Regions from separate parts of the Homo sapiens genome. Here region 1 is linked to region 2. The links are contacts of gene promoters, found by promoter capture Hi-C in blood cells and fetal thymus (Javierre and others, 2016). All regions are on one chromosome and are shown on one strand. The core of a region is centred on a gene start or on the middle of the fragment in contact, and the rest is flanking DNA. Distances in the headings are between cores, read along the strand shown. Region 1 holds the start of SPACA6 (sperm acrosome associated 6). Region 2 holds the start of ZNF787 (zinc finger protein 787).

Region 1 (2,835 bases), core at 247-2,746, 4.4 Mb before region 2:
GGTCCAGAAGCTGGAGAAGGCTGGGGACACCTCCTGGATTCAAGAGGGAGGACAGAGATGGGGCTGGGCAGACTTTGGGAGCCTCTTCCCCTCTCTGAGGCTCAGCCCCCTCACCTGCCAAATGGGGATGCTGAGGGCACCTCGCTCTCTGGAGTGGGAGGTGTCAGGGAGAGGACTGGTGCTCAGGGCCTGGTATGGGGTCAGCGCTGGGAGATTGTGGCTGTCATAGTTGTAAATGACCCAAAGAAGGGAGGAGAGAGGAAAGAAAGCACCTAGGGAGGCTCTGATGGTTGGCTAGCCCCTGGCCTCCTTAGCCCTGGGCCTGGAGTCTCTGCAGACTGACAGGAGGGTAGGTAGGAAGCAGGTGTGCCCAAAGGGCCAAATTACGAGACAAATGAGGTTCCCTCCCAGCCGGCACCCAGGAAGCCAGGTTTTCTATCAGGCCATGCCTTCCCCAGGAGGCCTGCCTGGCCGGAGGGAGGAGGGGCTGGGGGCAGGGACTCCTGGGTCTCTGGGGAGAAGGAGGCTTTGGATCTGGACTCATGAGTCTGAGGGAGGAAGGGGCTGAGTCCTTGGATTCCAGGAACATTTGGGGAGAAAAGGGCCAGAGGCCTGGATTCCTGGGTCTGTGGTGAGGAAGGGCCTAGACTTCTGGGTTCTTTAGGGAGGAGGGGGATGAGAGCCTTGACTCCAGGGTCCCTGATGAGGAAGGGGCTGAGGGCCTGGACTCCTGGGTTCCTTGGGGAGGAGGGGCCGGGGGCCCGGACTCCTGGGTCCTGGCACCCACCCGTAGAACCGACCTTGCGGGGCCTTCGCCGCACACAAGCTCGTGTCTGTGGGTCCGTGTCGGGGGCTCACCATCGCGGCTGGGGCCTCCCCGGCCCTCCCCCTCATCCCTGGTCCTCCTGGTCCCTGTCTGTCTGTCTGTCGGGTCTGTCCACCTGCCGCGCCCCCCGGGCTGAGGTAGGAGGTTGTATAGTTGAGGAGGACACCCAAGGAGATCACTATACGGCCTCCTAGCTTTCCCCAGGCTGCGCCCTGCACGGGACGGGGCCCGGCGGGGACCCCCAGCCCCACTCAGGGACCCTTAGCCCCACTGGGCTGCCCCAGGGACCCTGGGAGGAAGAGCCGGGCTCTTTTCTGTCCTTGTCCCTGCATCCCCTCCTTCCCCTGAAATCTGTTTTCCTTCCCTGTCTGTCTCCATCTCTGCTGTGTCTCTGTGGCTTCTGTGTCTCTTTCACAGTGGATCCTCTGACTCCCTCTTATTCTGGCTTTCTAGGTCTCTGCCCCTCCCGATATCTCTCTGTGTCTCTATTTCTGTCGTTTTTGGTCTTTCTGTCTCTGGCTCTCAGAATGTCTCTGTGCCTATCTCCATCTCTGACCCCCACCCCAGGGTCTACCGGGCCACCGCACACCATGTTGCCAGTCTCTAGGTCCCTGAGACCCTTTAACCTGTGAGGACATCCAGGGTCACAGGTGAGGTTCTTGGGAGCCTGGCGTCTGGCCCAACCACACACCTGGGGAATTGCTGGCCTGACTTCTGACCCCTGACTCCTCATACCCTTCCTCCAGAGCATGACATTTGACCACCAACTGAAACCTGACCTCTGACCCCAGACCACTGGCCCTTCCCCCGCCCTGTGGTGACTTCATAAAGGTTACTAGCTTCTCCCCTGGCCTTGAGACCCACACGATGGCCCTGCTGGCTCTGGCCAGTGCCGTCCCGTCTGCCCTGCTGGCCCTGGCTGTCTTCAGGGTGCCCGCCTGGGCCTGTCTCCTCTGCTTCACAACCTACTCTGAGCGCCTCCGCATCTGCCAGATGTTTGTTGGGATGCGGAGCCCCAAGCTTGAAGAGTGTGAGGAGGCCTTCACGGCCGCCTTCCAGGGCCTCTCTGACACCGAAATCAGTGAGGAGACCATCCACACTTCATCAGTGTCCTGGGGAAGGTGCAGAGGGAGGGCAGGAGAGGCCCAGAGGGTCAGGCTGAGGGACAGACAGAGAGAAACAGTCAGAGGAGAAAGGCTCAAAGACCATGAGAACAACAGAGACTTAGGGACAGAGAGACACAGACAGGGGAAGACAGCAGGGCAAAGACTCAGAGAGGGGAGGATGGAGAGTCAGAGAGGGGAAGATGGAGACTCAGAGAGGGGGAGGATGGAGACTCAGAGAGAGAGGAAGATGGAGACTCGGAAAGATGGAGACTCAGGAGTATGGAGAGTCAGAGAGGGGAGGATGGACACTCGGGAGGATGGAGAGTCAGGAGGATGGAGACTCATAGAAAGGGGAGGATGGAGAGTCAGGAGAGGTTGGAGACTGGAGAGGGAATAGAGACCCAGAGAGGGGAGGATGGAGACTCAGAGGGTGGAAGATGGAGACTCAAAGAGGATGGAAACCCAGAGAGAGGAGGACAGAGATGAGGCAGAGACTAGGGGAAGCAGGATAGCGACTGGTCGGGGGCAGAGACTCAGGGAGGATAGAGACTTGGGAGGGACTCAGGAAGCATAGCGACTGTGGGGCAAAGAGTCAGAGAGGGGAGGATACAGACTTGGGAGGGCAGAGACTCAGAAACAGAATGTTCGCATTAGGGACATGGTGTTGCGGGGAGCTGCCTCCCCCAGCCCCTGCTCCCTCCCTCACCGCCAGACTATGATGAGAGAAGCCACCTGCATGACACCTTCACCCAGATGACCCATGCCCTGCAGGAGCTGGCTGCTGCCCAGGGTGAGTGTGTGGGGATGGGGAGATGGGAGATGTGGACTTGGAGCCCCTAAGAAATGGGTATGTGGGAGGGCCCAGGGCAGAGGAAGGAGGCCCCCAGAGTTGGGCAGTGATCC
Region 2 (2,809 bases), core at 54-2,553:
GCCATTCCTTCCCTAAAGCCCTGACCATCCCCCGGACTGGGCTGGGTCAAAATGCCTTCCCTGGCTCCCACAGCCCCCAGACCTCTCCATCAGGGGTCTGGTCACCTTGGATGGCGACTCTGTCGCCCGGGTCTCAGTCTCTGCCTTCCACCCAGACTCCAAGCCCTTGTTCATCTCCCTGCTCCCTGTCTCTAGTGCCCGGCACAGGGCCTGGCACTGGAAAAACTTCTGCCTCCACTCACTCCTGCCTTCTGTGTCTGTGGGTCACTTTTCTGTGCGACTCTGCAGGTCCCAGAGCACTCATCCACATGAATTGGGGTCAGCTCCCTGGACTGGGGGTCGGGGTGGGGTGTCAGGAGGGCGGGGCTCCACTCTGATCCACTCGGCACAGGGGAGGGAGGCCTCAGGAGTCGCCACCCGATCCAGTCCCCGCCTTCGCCCTGCCCCGTGGGCCACGCGGTGGCTGACCTTGGCCCAGTCACTTCCCCCGCTGGGGACGCGCTTCCTCCCCGCCTGCCGAGCAAGGACGAATGAATGGGCCTCCTGCCGGCCAGAATCCCCGTAATTACCCGCCTGATCAAAGGCCACGCGCAGCCCGCCCGGGGCAGCAACGGGACCCGGGCTGACTCGAAAAGGGGAAGGAAGGGCTGGGGGGGCCGAGGGCTGAGACCGTGCCCTCGGGGCCGCGGTATCCGGCCAGGCCAGCCCAACCGCGCGGCCCCTTCCCCCACCTGGGCCTCAACTTCCCCCCGAAGTCGCCACCACTTCCGGCCACGACCGGCGGAGTTGGAACTTCGGGGGGACGGACAGCGGCCCCACCCCCGACGGCCCGCAGCAGAGGGACCCCCACCGAGGCCCCCGCTCCTGCCCCCGCCACGCGCACGCGCGCGCCCTGGACCCGGACCCGCGCACGCGCACCCCCCCTCCAGCCCCGCTCGCCGCCCGCGGGCCGCCCGGGCGCGCGTCCCCTCCCACAGCTCTTCGGCGCGCACGCGCACTCCCCCCGCCCGCGTCACCCCGGCCGCGCGCCCACTCACGCCCCCCCAGCAGCGCGCACGCGCGCCCGCCGCCCAGTCGCGCTCGCCCTCCAGTCTCCCCACCCACCCCCAGCCCAAGCCCAGCTTCCCGAAGCGCGCGCCCACCTGGCCCCCAGCGCACGGCCCCCGCCCCCACCCCTCACCTCCTTGGTCCCGGGGCCGCCGCGCCGCACTCCTCCTCCTCTCTCCTGCCTCGCGGATGGTGGCAGCGGCGGCAGCGGCGACTCAGACCCTGGGGTCAGGGGGACGGGCGCCCAGGCCGGAAGTGACCTTCCCGGCCGCTTCCGCCCGCGCCGCTCCCCCCCTTCTCCCTACTCCCTGCCCCCCGGGCCGCCACCCTGTCCTCGCCGCTCTAGGAAGGCGAGCCCGCTATCCCGGCCACCGCCCCCAGCTCTGTGGTGCCCGGCGGGCGCCTGAGGGAGCCACTTCCGGAAGTGTCTAGGACGCAGGTCCTCCGTCCATGCTCTATGGCGCCCCGCGCCGAGGGGCTTCGGCCCCGCCCCCTTCCCGGACAGGAGGTGCGGGCTGGGCCCGTTAGGCGGAGACTTCCGGGTGTCTAGGGCGGTGCCCCCCCGACAACCCGGGCTCCTCGCGCCTGCGCGGCCGGGTCCCCGGGCCCGCCGTGAGGAGAGTGAAGTGGTGGAGAGGGACGCTCGTGCCACCCCGGGTCCTCCTACCGTCTCTATCATGGTAACCCCTTCTCTGCCGCTGCACCTCCCAGTGGCCCGAGTCCAGGTGCCTTAGTTACTGGACAGAGACCCCGGGTTCCTTAGTTACTGGACAGAGAGTGCTGCGCTTCAGGTGCCATGGCCTCAGTTTCCTCCTTTCTGAAGTGATGAAAATACATTGTGCGCCTCCAAGTGCTTCACACGCACTAGGTCCTAGTCCTAACTAGGGCCTCATGGTAGGTCCTATCCCTATGTTGCAGGTGAGGAGTCAAATCACCTACCAAAAGTCACACACCCGGAATGCCAGAGCCTCGGCCCGAACCCATGGAGTTTGGCTCTAAATTCGTGTATTTAACCCTTGACTGTACACACTGCCTCGTGTCATAGCCCTGAGAATCCACTACTTCCCCCGCGTTAGGTAGGCACCTAGTAAGGACGCACTGGGTGTTAGCTGTTACTGTTGGTATTCTTGCAAAAAACACATATTTTAAAATAATTGTCCAAACCATAGTGTCCTTGTAGGCTGGTCCTTCTGGTCCTTCCTCTGTTCTGTACTTGGCTGACTCTCACCTAAGTGGCAGATGACTTATCGCTTATAATTGTTATCATCCTCACTGGTAGTCAGAAAAGATAAGAAGCTATAATTCACTGGTGGAATAACACCTTTCTCAGCCTCAATTTCTCATCTGTGGAATGGGAAAAAATAAGATAACCTGCAAGGTAATATGTGTAAGAGCTGCTTAGTTCAATACCTGGCCCATAGTAAGTTCACAAAAATGATGGTGGTTATTATTACCTATTAGCAGTGTTACATATAAGTCTATTGTTGTGGCCACTGTATACCCTCAAAGCTCAGTGAGCATCAATCATAAGATGTATATTATTGATTTAATAACATCTTTCCATGGGGTGGGGTGAACAGTGCTGTGTTAACTGTGTGTGTCAATAGGAGGATATCTGTGTCCCTCCTTCAGAAATATCACAAAGGTAAATTTTTAAATATATCTTAGAACAGAAGGAAGTGTGGCCGGGTGCAGTGGCTGACACCTGTAAATCTCAACACTTTGGGAGGCAGAGGCAGACGTCAGGAGGTCAGGAATTCGA

The links. Contacts are between HindIII fragments. The CHiCAGO score rates a contact against its expected background, and 5 or more counts as called.
Region 1: the fragment with the promoter of SPACA6 here is called in contact with the fragment with the promoter of ZNF787 in region 2 in 2 of 17 cell types (naive CD4 T cells and activated CD4 T cells); the score reaches 7.2 in naive CD4 T cells.

Annotation. Positions count from the first base shown.
Region 1 is chr19:51,691,834-51,694,668 of GRCh38, forward strand. It overlaps SPACA6 (sperm acrosome associated 6), which reads left to right and starts at 1,497. Exons shown (of 9, transcript NM_001316972.2): 1 at 1,497-1,907; 2 at 2,645-2,722. The coding sequence starts at 1,694. It overlaps SPACA6-AS1 (SPACA6 antisense RNA 1), which reads right to left and starts at 1,623. Exons shown (of 2, transcript NR_108100.1): 1 at 801-1,623. It overlaps MIR99B (microRNA 99b), which reads left to right and starts at 779; the gene lies at 779-848. MIRLET7E (microRNA let-7e) reads left to right here and starts at 953; the gene lies at 953-1,031. It also overlaps MIR125A. The HindIII fragment of the contact is 8,848 bases long and covers 1-1,844 here.
Region 2 is chr19:56,119,992-56,122,800 of GRCh38, forward strand. It overlaps ZNF787 (zinc finger protein 787), which reads right to left and starts at 1,304. Exons shown (of 3, transcript NM_001002836.4): 1 at 1,181-1,304. It overlaps LOC124904772 (a long non-coding RNA gene), which reads left to right and starts at 1,619. Exons shown (of 2, transcript XR_007067348.1): 1 at 1,619-1,941. RefSeq lists enhancers at 349-643, 1,071-1,786 and silencers at 391-440, 521-840, 1,131-1,210, 1,221-1,340, 1,431-1,800. The HindIII fragment of the contact is 11,888 bases long and covers 1-2,809 here.